4 separate regions of the Homo sapiens genome follow, and regions 1, 2 and 4 are each linked to region 3. Evidence: promoter capture Hi-C in human tissues and cell types (Jung and others, 2019). All regions are on one chromosome and are shown on one strand. Each heading gives the region's core, a stretch centred on a gene start or on the middle of the fragment in contact. The rest is flanking DNA. Distances are from core to core; before and after follow the strand shown. Region 1 overlaps UBE2E2 (ubiquitin conjugating enzyme E2 E2). Region 2 overlaps UBE2E2 (ubiquitin conjugating enzyme E2 E2). Region 3 holds the start of UBE2E1 (ubiquitin conjugating enzyme E2 E1). Region 4 overlaps UBE2E2 (ubiquitin conjugating enzyme E2 E2).

Region 1 (3,698 bases), core at 311-2,810, 260 kb before region 3:
TGTGTTTATCATCTTCATGTATCTTTTCCTTACTTCTGTTTCCTTACTTCTAACGCAGGGAGTATCTGTCAACTTTACTTGACCTATAAAGTGCTACCAGCATTTTTAAAGTAGGAAGGTAAATCCCTTAGAGTGGGAATCTGTGGTTCCTTTTCTGTTTCTTTTTGACTGTTACAGAGTTGTTCACGCATCCATTTCAGGTTTCTGATTGGTGTGTTCTGTAATAGCAGGTACAGTAAAATCTTACTAGTTCAGTATAATTGAGAAAAGATCAGACTGATTTTTTTTAATGAATTGGAAATTTTCACTAAGTGAAGACGTAATAATTTTAAGTACATATAGGAAATATTAGGTAAAATGTGTGAACTAGATGGCCTCTAGACTCTCCTTTACCAAGGAAAAGGCTGAAGTGGGTTTTTCACACATTCACAAAAAATAGAGAAAATGGTTATTATAAGTCCCAGTGTGTCCCTCACCCAGCTTCAGAACTCACCTATATTTAGTAAGGTTTAGGAATTAGGGTTTTTTGTTTATTATTTATTTATTTATTTTTAGAGATGGGGTCTTGCTCTGTCTCCCAGGCTGGAGGGCAGTGGTGTCGTCATAGCTCTCTGCAGCTTCGAACTCCTGCACTCAAGCAACCCTCCTGCTTCAGCCTCCCGAGTAGCTAAATATTCTCAGATAATATTGTTTTAATACCATTAATTTTCATGAAAACCATTTTTAAACAAGACCTAGTAAATGTCAGAACAGGTTGCTGCATCAGAATTAAGTTAGCAGTGGTGAACTTAAGGGTATGTTACTAAAAGATACAGCATGTGCCCTGTGGAAGATAAGCCACTGAGTAAAGTTTGATGCCCTTTTGTTTGTTTGTTTGTTTGTTTGTTTGTTTGTTTTGAGACAGTTTCACTCTGTCTCCCAGGCTGCAGTGCAATGGTGCGATCTCAGCTCACTGCAACTTCCACTTGCTGGGTTCAAGCAATTCTCCTGCCTTAGCCTCCTGAGTAGCTGAGATTACAGGCGCGCACCACCACGCCCAGCTAATTTTTGGATTTTTAGTAGAGACGGGGTTTCACCATGTTGATCAGGCTGGTCTCAAACTCCTGACCTCGTGATCCTCCTGCCTTGGCCTCCCGAAGTGCTAGGATTACAGGCATGAGCCACCGTGCCTGGCAGACTGACACCTTTTTAAAAAAATAGAGAGAGAGATGAAACCTCATTCTGTTGCCTATGCTGGACTGTAGTGGCACAATCAGAACTCACTGCAGCCCCCTACCGGAACTCCTGGGCTCAAGTGGTCTCAAGTGATCCTCCTGCCTCAACCTCCCAAGAGCTGGGACTATAGGCACATGCCACCATACCCAGCTAGTTTAAATGTGAAATCAGGCTTTTTAAATGTGAAATTTTTAAACATGAAATTAAGAGAAATTATTTAAACAGCATGTTTAAACAATACATATTTGAAATTAAAATAATGCATTGTTAGTGTTATGGAAATTCCAATCTGAAACAGCATAATAAAACAACTCTAATTATTCAGTAATTGACTTGTGTGGACAAAACATCCAGATGATTGAATGACATTTTCTCTTTTTACTGTGAATACTTAAGATTGTACAGTATCTTGGGAGAAATGTTGTAATTATGAAAATTTGAAGAATTAATGTAACACTACCAATGTCTGAGTCAGATCCCATAACAAATGGGCAGTTCTCTTTATTTTACTTATTTTCTGACTCAACTTTTCATTCAGTATCTAGCCTGGGCAAGGTGCTATCAGTAACAACACTCACAGTGCCTCTTCCTCAGAAAAGAAAGCGCTTCCAAAATGTCAGATTAATTATTCCTATACAACTGTAATAACTACTTTCTCTTTTTCTTCTCTTCATATTTGTTCTTTAGTAGATCCTGGAGCTTAATGTGTATTATGGCTGTTGAATTTTTCATGTCATATTGGTGAATAATTCACACAATAAGCAGTACAAGAGTTTGCCTAAATTACTAGCATATTTCTTTCTGGAGCAGGTCTGTTCCTGGAAAAAATTACAAATCAGAATATTTTACATGTATTGGAAGAACTTTCTGCTTAAGAGTATCCTACAGGGAAACCTGTTGCCACATGAAGCTTTTATAAAGTTGAATTTTTGGAAAATGCAATGGTTCTTCCCCACCACCGCCCCAATTCAGCACTGTCTTCCTTCTGAAAGCATTTTCCCAAATAAGACATATTGTTTGTGCTATTCAAGTGCCTCGGCCAACCAACAAATGCCTATCTGACTATGTGCCTATAGGCTGATGTAGTTAGTACCTTTTGACGTGACTCTTTACACCAGTGAGGTAAACCACCTTCCTTGCATACATTGTGACCACATGTGTACTCCAGTGACTTTCTTGTCCAGACTGGCTGGCTCCTGTGATGGAAAAAATGTTCATACACAGACTAATTTAAATACATAAGGGAAACTAGGAAGAGTGCAGGCCTAGAGAAGATGTCTTCATAGTTTATCTAGCTTTGGATGCCAGCATTATATTTTTATAAGAAAAACTCTAGAAAAGAGTTCAGCTTACAATGCATGAATAACCCCGCATCACTGGGGCAAAGGCATATTAGAGTGCCAGCCACCCGTGGTCATCGTAGGAGGGTACATTTATCTGAGGGATGTGTATTTTTTAATCTTGGTAATAGCCTACTAGGGATGGTATATTTTAACTTCAGCCTTACTATAAATGGTTCTGTATCTGCGGGTAATGCATCTTTTCTGTAGATTCATAATCAAAATAATGTGGTTAGCTTAGAGTTGGGGTTAATCATATATGAGTTCAAAAAGTTAATAGTCCATGTCCAATTTGGTAAAAGTTTGTAAGTGAAAAATTACTATTTGGGGGAAGTTTTTGTTTGCTTCTTTGATTTGCTGGAGAAATGATTTAAAGTTGCAGTATTGTAACTAGGCAAAGAAGCCTTTGATTTAGATACATGTGGGAGTTGCATTTGGGGAACTTAGGCCATGTGTATCTTCATAGTATTCATGGTGGAGAGAGAGTGTTTTCAGGTGAAAAAGAAAGTTTTAGATTCATTCCTTAATAAAATGTATTTTCTGTATTGGCTTTTTGTTATTTTCAAAATTGATGTATCTTTATTATTTTTTCTTATACAAATAATACCTGCTTATTAATTTTTAAAAATCAGTCGTCTTTTCAAGATAAGTATTTAATTTTTATTTGAGGCTCTTTGCTCTGGGAACTCAAATTTGGTGGGACCCAGCAAAGTATATTTGTCAGTTAAGTTTGTCTGGTTATAATCTTGGTGTAAATTTAGACACGTTGACCTCAGGGATTTAGCCTTGGCTTTGACCTGCTTTTGCTTAGCATTTCCCTATGCATATTTTATTGTCTCTTAATTAATATAAATGTCGACATGGATTAGCTGTTGATACAAATTTTCTTTTATAAAGTCCATTGCTCTCCCTGCAGTAGTAACCTCTAATTGGTTGGTTTAGAAGTTGATCTTGGCTAGGTGGCTCATGCCTGTAATCCCAGCACTTTTGGGAGGCCAAGGCAGGAGGATCACTTGAAGCCAGGAGTTCAAGACTAGCCTAGGCAACAAAGTGAGACCCTGTCGCTACAAAACATAACAAACACTTTTACCACTTCTATTCAACATAGTACCAGAAGTCCTAGCCAGAACAATCATTCAAGAG
Region 2 (3,605 bases), core at 766-3,265, 380 kb before region 3:
AAGTCCTTGAGTGGGATTATCTTACACTTTATTATTTATCTTGATACTAAAGATAAGAAATAGATCTCTGCTATTTCATTTTTCTTTACTCAGTATACATAACTTTTTGTCAAGAGTTAATATAGAAGTATGTCTGTTTCTCTCATAACCCTTGTTTTAATGGTTAACAATTGTTTATTTCTTATCAGGATGAGAGTTAATATATTGCCATCCTTGATAAGAACTCTTGGTCTAATTTTACTTATAACTGCTTTAATTACTTTATAACACACTAATGCCATAATCTATATAATGCTTGCATGTCCAGTGCGTGTATTTATTTCTAGATCAGTGATTGTAATAGGTACTAGGTGCTTAAAAATACCTATACTGGAATATAAGCAATTACATTTTTTCAAAATGTATGGAGTCTTTATTATGATACTCATGAATGTTTTTAATGAGAATATGATAATAAACCCTACATCTCTTCCTAAATCTCCGATCAGTAGTAGTGTGACCTGGTGCTACCTATCAGAAGAATGAGGGCCCTCCCTTAGCAGTGGAGTACTGAAAACTGTATCTCTGCCTCTCCTCCTTCACACCCTCCTTCAATTCATGATCCTCAGGGAGACTTATTTTGCCTAGTTTAGTTACTGAGTCTGGTGGTTGACCTCTTGAGTAATGAAAGGACATTACTGAGAATTTTGAGAGTGCTGAGAGTGAGTGGATACTTTTAAGGTTTTCTCTTCAAGCTTTTGTTCCCTAATTTGGAAAGGTAAGTAATGTTTGATAATCTTACTAAATTCCACAGTTATTTATTCTCTCAAACCCTTCAGAAAATACCCAATTGAATAAGATATAAATGTTTAAGGAACTTTTTTTTCTATGTTGAACCAGATAAATCTAAGAAATAAAAGAAAAGCTACATAATCTGCAGTATAATATTAATGAAAATACAGCAGAGACTTGCAGTTACCATGTTAAGGTACAGATGATTTCCTAAATGAATTCATTTGTCTATGATCAGTAACTAAAGAAGCAGCTAGCTGGGGTATCTACTCTTGTAGGGGAGCAGGTAGCCTTTCTGGGAGGAGAGCACATATTAACTGACTTAAACACCTTTGTTTTTTTTTTTTTCTGTATTTGCTTTAAGTGATACTGAATTTGATGGCTTTTTCTTTGGCTTGCTAAGGATAAAATGTAGAAAATTTAATTCTGCTTGGATTAATGAACATATTTTTAGAATCTTGTACAAATTGTAGCACTAATGAAAGGTCCTCTGCTCCAGGCATAAGGTTTCATTTAAGAATGAAAAAGCAAATTGAGCTAATGTATTGTGTAAGAGGTTTGTAGTTAAATACATAAAATGATGTCAGTTTGATTTCAGCTGGAGCTAAGGTACTCTGATAGCTATGAGATGTTAAAATAATAGAAACATTTAAAGAAGTATGATAGCTGAATTTTATATAAATAAAGTAGTTTGATTTTTTATAACTGGTAGCGTTTATTTTACTTCAGTGATTTGGCAGAGGTACTAAGCCAAATAATTTTTAAATTGGTTTTATCTTAAATTGGTTATATCTGGTGGTAACATTTATGGATAATTAGAGTCAAAATAAGCAATTGTTTCATCCTTTTCTACTTTACCATGTTTTAAACATTTGAGTTTGGAAAACTTAAATTATATACAAAGTAGAAAATTAGTATAATAAAGACTTTAAATCACATTTATCAATGCACAGGGAATCGTGTTTTAACTATACCCCCACCAAACATATCTTGCCTCAGATTTTAAAGCAAATTCCAAGTGTCAATCCTTTCCTTATAAATATTTCAGTATGTATCCTTGAGTAAGTCCATAAGGACTAATTTCTTTTAGCATAACTATAATGCCATTAAAACAGCTACTTTTTAGTTGCAGATAAGAAGTAGGGTAGGAATTGCTGGGGTCTAACCCAGTTCTGATGACATTAAATAGATCCTAGATAGTTGGACAAATCATTTAACTTTCTTCTCTTCCTGCTCTCTTGTCTTTTAAAGGGGGAAGCTCAACTAAATTTTCTTTAAAATCCCATCTGTCTCTGAAATTTGTTAATTTAAAAAATTAGACTTCTAGTTTCCAGACTAGCATGTAAGGAGCTTAGAAGTCATTACGTCAAAAAATAAACAGGTTAAAAAGCTGAACAAACTGAAAAATTAACAGTTCTTCTTAGATCTGTTATAGAAGCAAGGTTACAGGGTAAACCACTCCCACCACCCCCAGATTGAAGAGACAGGCAAATACAGAGAACAGGAGCAGAAGCCTCTGCAGGAATCAGCATCACAGTAGGAAAACCTGAACTGCAATTGATAAATTGCTGGGGCTCAGGATATACAAGCTTGAGAGTGAAAAACTTTAGGGGTGACGAGTCATGAGACCTAATCATAGGACTATAGAATGCTCTACCCTCCCCCGCTTTCTTACCCCCACTTTCTTAGCCCTATTTTCTGCAGTTCCTTTTACCCAATTCACCATGTCCAGCTCTCAAGAAAAAAATTACAAGTGTACTAGAAGGCAAATAATACACTTCGAAGAGACAGAACAAGCAACAGAACCAGATTCAGATATGGCAGGGCTCTTGAAATTATCATATCAGGAATTTAAAACAACTATCATTAAAATACTAAGGGCTCTAGGGATAAAGTAGATGCCATGGAAGAGCAGATGGGCAATGTAAGCAGAGAGGTGGAATTCTAAGAAAGAATCAAAAAGAAATGCCAAAGGTGAAAAACAGTGAAATAAAAATGAAGAATGTTTTAAATGAGTTCATTGGTAGACTTGACACAGCTGAGGAAAGAATCTAAAACCTTGAGTATATGTCAGTAGAAACTTCCAAGATAGAAAAGTAAAGGGAAAAAAGACTGAAATAAACTGAACAGAATATCCAAGAACTGTGGAACAACAATAGGTGTATCATATGCATGATGAGAATACCAAACGAAGTAAAAAAGGAAAGGAACAGATTAAATATTTGAAGCAGGAACAACAGAAATTTTCCTGCAAATTAATGTCCCACACTAAACCACAGATTCAGGAAGCTCAGAAAGCATTAGGATAAATGCAAAAAAAAAAAAAAAAAGCTACACATAGTCATATCATATTCAAATTACAGAAAATCAGTGATTAAAAATCTGGAATGAAGCCTGATGGGGTGTGCAGGGAGACCTGACTTAGAGAATTATATCCAACATTTCCTCAGAAACCATGCACACAATAAGAGAGTGAAGTGAAATAATTAGTGTTGAGAGAAAAAAACTTCCAGCCAAAAATTCCATACCCTGCAAAGTTATTCTTCAAAAGTGAAGAAGAGGTAAGACTTTCTAGCTAAACAAAAATTGAGAGAATTTGTTGCCAGCAGATCTGCTTTGCAATAAATGTTAAAAGAAGTTCTTCAGAGAGAAGGAAAATGACATAGGTCAAAAACTGGGATCTCCATTAAAAAAGGAAGAACATCACAGAAGGGATAAGTACAGGTAAAATTTTAAATTTTTTATTTTTCCTATTTTTAATGGACAGATCAATCTGTACAAAATAATAGCAACAATATATTGTGTGCGTATACACACACACATATATATATACT
Region 3 (3,380 bases), core at 528-3,027:
AATAACTATTTTTAGATTATTTTCCTCATCCTGAGTTTATTTCATCTTCTTATTGTTTTCTTCTGAATTTACATCTTTTCATCAGAACAAAAAGAATACAATCAGTTTTTCAGAAGTTTAAAAAATTTTTTCAAATATATAGCAAAGAATGTCATCATTTTTATATACTCTACCAGGACTCCTGAAACCAAACACTTAAGAAAGGTTATGTCTGGAAATTTTTTCAAAATCTATATGCATTTCAGTGGTGGAGAAATAGTTCTGTCTGGAAGCAGGAGGCTGAAATTATGACCCTGAAGATTTCTTCCAGCTTTTGAACTTCTTATTCTATGACAACTCCTGGTAGATACAGGTTTCCTGGTAGGGATTGAGCAAGAAGCATGCACAATTACTTTATGAGTCTTGATAAAGCTGGAATTTCAGGTTGATGGTTAGAAGGAGTTCGGCTGGGTCGTGAGAATGCTTGTTTTCCTGGTTACTGGATATGCCATGGGCTGTATATCTTGTGTTGTCCTGTGGTAACTGAAGCCACTGTTGCTGTGGAAAATGATGGCAGTTTGAATGAGATAATTTAGAGTGACCTATGGAAATCTGAGGCTGTCTCCTTAATGTACAAGACCTTGTATGTGTGGCACTGTTGTATTTGAATGGCACACATCTCTTTAGTTCCCTTCAACTGAAATGACAAAAGGTGAGAAACTGAATCGTAATTTGATGGCTTAATATTAAAAAAAAATTGGCAAAAATGCTAAATAAGGAACAATTCAGAAGAATTGCTGATCATTTCAAAAATATTATTTGCATAGCATTTATAGGTAGCTAAAGAAAGAGAAAAATGGCTTAATATTTTAAAAATAATTTGGTCAATTTAGCGATCTGGGGATTCTGCGATCCCCAGAACTTTGCATCCAATTTCCAAAAACCAAACCTTACATCTAATGTAAAATGACACAAAAAATTCTAAATCCAGTCTAATTCAGTAGTATATAGCTTATTCCCAGTGATGTCTCACATTCGCAAGCCCGTTACACGTTGGTTTTACCTGTCACCAAAACCTTTGTATCACTCTTATAAAAAACCACATCACTTTCTATAAAAAGTGAGTGGAAGAATCTAATATTGTAAAACTGCACGTGCCTCGCGTGACCTGAGCAGAAAATTCCTAGTTTGGGATTTTCTCACAGGCATACCTAAACTGACCTCTGCTCCTAGCAGGTAAATTGCTAGAAGGAGAAGCAAGTGTCAGTCCAAAGAAAACCCTTGTTGTGTGATTTTTTTTTTCTCTTTAATCGCTTTTTAGGTGGAGTACCCGCTGCATTCTCTAAAGTCTTTGCCACCACCAGATTACCAACGTTTTCACCAATTTGCCACCTCCCTACTCCTCTCCTTTCCAAAAGCCCTCATTGGAAAGAACTTTCTCTCGTGACCCCCCTATTCCATCTAGTTCCAATCACTCCCAGCGCCCCCCATCTCCATCGGCTTCCCCTCTCCCGCCCAGAATCCAGGTTCCCAAACCACTTAAGAGAAAATTCACAACCCTCGCCCCCTTCCCGGGCGTCCGGAGGAGGCGCTGGGGTGGGGGTGTCTGTGGGGGACAGGGTTTCCTGGGGTCTCCTGGGTCTTCCTCGCGCACCCCCAGGAGGTGTTGCAGGGGGAGGGGAGCGCGGGTGGGTGGGACCGGGCCGGGTGGGGGAGGGGTGAGGGCGAGGAGGAGGAGGAGGAGGAGGCGGCGGCGGAGGAGTGGTGTGTGTGCGAGCGTGTGTGGCTGGGGGAAGCCATTGCCTGTTTAATAGTTGCTGTTGCTGCACTTCCGCTTCTCTCCCAGCGAGAGAGAGACACGAGTGGCCAGGCCCAGCCGCAGCCGCAGCAGCAGCCGCCGCGGCGGCACGGAGGAGCCAGACACAAAGAGAGGTACGGGGATCCCCCCAGCGGCCCGCCGCCCCCCGGCCGCGCCGCCGGGCCTCGGGGACACCCCTCGCCGCCTCCCCCGACTCGCGCCGCCGGGGCCGCCGGGCCGCAGGGCACGGGGCCGGCGCGGGGGGGGAGCGGAGAGGGGCTGGGGAGCCCCAGGGGTCCGGGGCCCGCCCGCGGGGGATGGGCAGGGACCCCGGGCCGCGTGGGGTGCGGGGGCCGCCCGCATTGAGGACGGGGGTCATTGTGGCTCGAACTGTCAGCGCTGCCCCAAGAGCCCCCCACTGGCCACCGAGGGGCCCGGGAGCGGGGGTGGGAGGGAGTTGGGGGAGCCCCGTTTTCCCCAGGGGCGGGGGTTCGCGGGGATTAACCCCTCCGGGGCGGAAGGGCTCATTGTTATGTCTTCGCTGCGGAGGCCGACCCCCCCATTCCCCGCCGCAGCCCCTATCCCCCTACAGGAGTGGCGATCGGGCGTGTGCTCCGGACCCCCGCCCGGCCGCATAGCTGTGAGCAGGGCGGCCAGAGGCAGGCAGGCCGGGAGGGGCGTCGGGGCGCGGCGCGGGGGGGCCTCGGGCCTCGTCGCCCCTGCCCCCCGCCGGCCTCTCCCTTCCCCCACCCGGGCACCCGCTCCCCGCCTCCGTCCCCCTGTTTCGGCTTCCTCTCTTACTCCTTCCCGCCCCTCCTCTCTTCCCGACCTCGCCAAACTCCGCTCGTGGCCCCACAGTCTCACCCGGGCCACCGGCCCCTCACGACCCCCGGAAAGCGGACAAAAACAGCCCCGAGGCCGGCCGGCCGCCGGGACCTTCCCTCCCTGCCCCGCCGTGGCGCCCCGCGCCCCCCGCCCTGCCCTCCTTCGCCTCCCGGGCTACTCCCTCCCTGCCCAGCGGAGAGCCCCGGGGGGCGAGGGAGGGGCCTCTCTCCTAGCTCCAGACCGTTTTCCCACAGCGTTCCCCACTTGGGGCCAAAAATAAACAAGCCGCGTCCGATTTGCAAAAGCCTTAATGGGCCTGCAGACTTTGAAAAGCGAGTGGAGGGCGGTGGGCGGCCGCGTGCGCCCCTGGTCAATGCCCTCCTGACAGCACCCGAGTTCCTTATTTACACTGGCTGCATGGTTTGTGTGTTTCTGTTTTGTTTCTCTCCCCCTGCAGGGGCTGTTTGCGGGGTGGGGTGGGGGGTTCGCTATGTCGGATGACGATTCGAGGGCCAGCACCAGCTCCTCCTCATCTTCGTCTTCCAACCAGCAAACCGAGAAAGAAACAAACACCCCCAAGAAGAAGGAGAGTAAAGTCAGCATGAGCAAAAACTCCAAACTCCTCTCCACCAGCGCCAAGAGGTACTGTGCTCTTTTTTTTTTCCACAGGCTTCCTATTTCCGAACTGCCTCTTGCTGCATTTGGTCTGCCTCCCAATGAGGATAGCTTAAACGCTCCTCATGGTTTATGTGTTCTTAAAAATGAAAGAAGGGCCTTG
Region 4 (3,630 bases), core at 796-3,295, 440 kb before region 3:
ACCAAACACACTCTCAGACCAAAGCACAATAAAAATAGAAATCAATACTAAGAAAATTGCTCAAAAGCATACAATTACATGGAAATTATATAACCTACTCCTGAATGACATTTGGGTAAACAATGAAATTAAGGCAGAAACCAAGTACAACATACCAGAATCTCTGGGGCACAACTAAAGCAGTATTAAGAGGGAAGTATATAGCACTAAACACCCAGAGAAACGGACTAAAAAGTTAAAAGTTAAAAGGATCTCAAGTTAACCTAACATCACACCCAGAGGAACCAGAGAAATGAGCAAACCAACCCCAGAGCTAGCAGAAGACAACAGATAACCAAAATCAGAGCTGAAATGAAGGAAACTGAGATGTAAAAAACCATACAAAAGATCAACAAGTACAGAAATTGATTCTTTGAAAGAATAAATAAGATTGATATGCCACTAGCGAGACTAATAGAGAGAGAGACAGAAGATCCAAATAAACAGAATCAGAAATGACAAAGGGGACATTACCACCAACCCAACAGAAATACAAAAAAACCCCAGAGACTACTGTGAACACCTCTATGCATGCAAACTAGAAAATCTGAAAGAAATGGATAAATGCCTGGAAACATACGACCTCCCAAGATTGAACCAGGAAGAAGTTGAATCCATGAACAGACAAATAATGAATTATAAAATTGAATCAGTAATAAAAAGCCTGCCAATCACAAAAATCCCAGGACCAGACAGATTCACAGCCAAACTACTGAATGTGTAAGGAAAAGCTGGTACTATTCCTACTGAAACTGCTCCTACAAATTGAGGTGGAGGGAATCCTCTCTAATTCATTCTGTGAGGCTAGCATCATTATGATACCAAAACCTGGCAGAGACACAACAAAAAAGAAAATCTTAGGCCAATATTCCTGATGACCATAGAAGCAAAAGTCCCCAACAAAATACTAGCAAGCCAAATTCAGCAGCACATCAAAAAGTTAATCCACTGTGATCAAGTAAGCTTTATTCCTGGGATGCAAAGTTAGTTCAGCATACACAGATCAATAAATGTGATTTGCCACAAAAACAGAATTATAAACAAAATCACATGATCCTCTAAATAGATGCAGGAAAAAAAGCTTTTGATAAAATTCAATATCCCTTCATGTTAAGAACCCTCAACAAACTAGGCATTGAAGTAATGTACTTCAAAATAATAAGAGCCACCTATGACAAACCCACAGCAAACATCATACTGAATGGGCAAAAGCTGGAAGCATTCCCCTTGAGAACCGGAACAAGGCAAGGATGCCAACTCTCACCACTCATACTTAACCATAGTACTAGAAGTCCGAGCCAGAGCAATCAGGCAAGAGAAGAGCAATGCCAAGAGGAAGAGAGGAAGTCAAACTATTTCTGTTTGCAGATGATATGGTTCTATAACTAGAAAACCCCATAGCCACTGCCCAAAAGTTCCTAGATCTGATAAACAACTTCAGTAAAGTCTCAGAAGACAAAATCAGTGCACAAAAACCAGTAGCATTTCTATACACCAACATCATCTAAGCTGAGAGCCAAATCAAGAACACAATCGCATTCACAATAGCTACAAAAAGAATAAAATACTTAGGATTGCAGCTAATCTGGGAGGTGAAAGATCTCTAAATGAGAATTACAAAACACTGCCCAAAGACATCATAGGTGACACAAATGGAAGAACATTCCATGCCCATAGATAGGAAGAATCAAGATTGTTTAAAATGGCCATACCACCCAAAGCAGTCTACAGATTCAGTGCCATTCCTATCAAACTACTGATGACATTCTCCATAGAATTAGAAAAATTATTTTTAAATTCGTATGGAACCAAAAAAGAGCCTGAATAGCCAAAGCAGTCCTAAGCAAAAAGAACAAGGTTGGAGGCATCACATTACCCAACTTCAAACTATATTACAAGGCTACGATAACCAAAAAAGCACAATAGTGGTACAAAAAGAGACACACAGACCAATGAGACTGAATAGAGAGCTCAGAAATAATGCCAGACATCTACAATCATCTGATCTTTGACAAAGTCGACAAAAACAAGCTATGGGGAAAGGACTTTCTATATAATAAGTGGTGCTGTGATAACTGGCTAGCAATTTGCAGTAGATTGAAACGAACCATTAGAGAAATGCAAATCAAAACCACAGTGAGATACCATCTCACACCAGTCAGAATGGCCATTATTAAAAAGTAAAAAATAATAGATGCTGTTGAGGTTGTGGAGAAAAGGGAACACTTATACACTGCTGGTGTGTGTAAATTAGTTTAGCCATTGTGGAAAGTAGTGTGGCAATTTCTTGAAGAACTTAAAACAGAAATACCATTCAACCCAGCAATCCCTTTATTGGGTATATACCTGAAGGAATATAAATCATTCTCCACAAAGACGCATGTGTGTGCTCATCACAGCACTATTCACGATAGCAAAGTCTTGGAATCAACCTAAATACCCATCAGTGGTAGACCAGATAATGCAGTATGGATATACCATGGAATACTATGCAGCCATTAAAAAAGAATGAGATCCTTCGCTTTGCAACAACATTGATGGAGCTGAAAGCCATGATGCCCCATGTTCTCTCTTACAGGTCAGAGGTAAACATTGAGTACACATGCACACAAATAAGGGTACAACAGACACCAGAGCCTCCTAGGGTGGAGGGTGGGAGGAGGGAGGGGATTGAAAAACTGCCTGTTGGGTACTATGCTTATTACCTGGGTGACAAAATAATCTGTATACCAAACCCCTGTGACATGCAATTTACCTGTATAACAAACCTGCACGTGTACCTCTGAACCTAAAAGTTAAAAAAAAGAAGAAAAAAATACCCTGGGATCAGACATTTAGAGTAAATTGTGAAAAATTACACTAAAACTTAGACATATAAGTTGATTTTAGTTCAATTAAGAAAATTTGTATAACAGAAACTATGTTCTAATTATAGAAGAACAATGAAAATTAGTGTTTATTGGTATTTTTTGTATGTACAATAGCACATAATTTTTACAAAAAAATAGTAAATTGCTTCTATCAGTTTTTCTAAGGGACTCTCTTAGTCCTTGGCAGACAAGTCATTCTGAAGAATTTATCCTGTCATTATCCTTTTTGATTTTCTCATCAGGGCCTTTGAATGTGATCCTGCAGTTCTCCATCATCCCTTTAATGGATTTCATGAAATCTTTTAAGTGATTTTCAGTTTCATTATAAAATGGAATTAATTTGCCCTGTGTTTGTTGACAAACCAATCTTTATGATAGAATGGCTGTGATATATTTGGTTTACAATCCAGTTTCTTGGTATTAGAAACTCTGAAGTGATGTCTTTTTGTTTGCTTATGAGTTGACTGATGGCTGGCAGCATCTAGGTAGCTTCATGATGGGGGCTGGTCACTGGAAAAACCAAGGCAGGATTAGAGGGGTGGGGCTGAAAGTCACACCAACATCTGTGCTGAAAGTTAATTTGATCACCAATGGCCAGTGGTTTAATCAATCATGCTTATGTTATGAAACCTCCATAATAACTCGAAGGGTTTGGAGAACTGCTTGATGACTGATCACGCAGAGGGTGGTATGCCCAGGAAAGGCATGGAAGCTCTGTGCC

The links. Contacts are between HindIII fragments. The study calls those that stand out against the background at their distance.
Region 1: a contact is called between a fragment that was not itself captured here and the fragment with the promoter of UBE2E1 in region 3, in 1 of the 25 tissues and cell types used here (mesendoderm cells).
Region 2: a fragment that was not itself captured here is called in contact with the fragment with the promoter of UBE2E1 in region 3 in 1 of the 25 tissues and cell types used here (lymphoblastoid cells).
Region 4: a contact is called between a fragment that was not itself captured here and the fragment with the promoter of UBE2E1 in region 3, in 1 of the 25 tissues and cell types used here (mesendoderm cells).

The regions. Positions count from the first base shown.
Region 1 is chr3:23,539,528-23,543,225 of GRCh38, forward strand. All of the region lies in intron 5 of UBE2E2 (ubiquitin conjugating enzyme E2 E2), which reads left to right. Among named protein-coding and RNA genes, the nearest start is that of UBE2E1, 260 kb to the right of the region's middle. The HindIII fragment of the contact is 7,012 bases long and covers 1-3,698 here.
Region 2 is chr3:23,423,334-23,426,938 of GRCh38, forward strand. The region is part of intron 3 of UBE2E2 (ubiquitin conjugating enzyme E2 E2); the gene reads left to right. Among named protein-coding and RNA genes, the nearest start is that of UBE2E2, 220 kb to the left of the region's middle. The HindIII fragment of the contact is 3,466 bases long and covers 283-3,605 here.
Region 3 is chr3:23,804,178-23,807,557 of GRCh38, forward strand. It overlaps UBE2E1 (ubiquitin conjugating enzyme E2 E1), which reads left to right and starts at 1,778. Exons shown (of 6, transcript NM_003341.5): 1 at 1,778-1,911; 2 at 3,060-3,244. The coding sequence starts at 3,093. UBE2E1-AS1 (UBE2E1 antisense RNA 1) reads right to left here and starts at 2,728. Exons shown (of 2, transcript NR_046652.1): 1 at 2,642-2,728; 2 at 1-537. RefSeq lists silencers at 1,714-1,823, 1,904-2,033, 2,224-2,523, 2,724-2,903 and an enhancer at 3,204-3,293. The HindIII fragment of the contact is 15,489 bases long and covers 1-3,380 here.
Region 4 is chr3:23,363,934-23,367,563 of GRCh38, forward strand. The region is part of intron 3 of UBE2E2 (ubiquitin conjugating enzyme E2 E2); the gene reads left to right. Among named protein-coding and RNA genes, the nearest start is that of UBE2E2, 160 kb to the left of the region's middle. The HindIII fragment of the contact is 3,973 bases long and covers 60-3,630 here.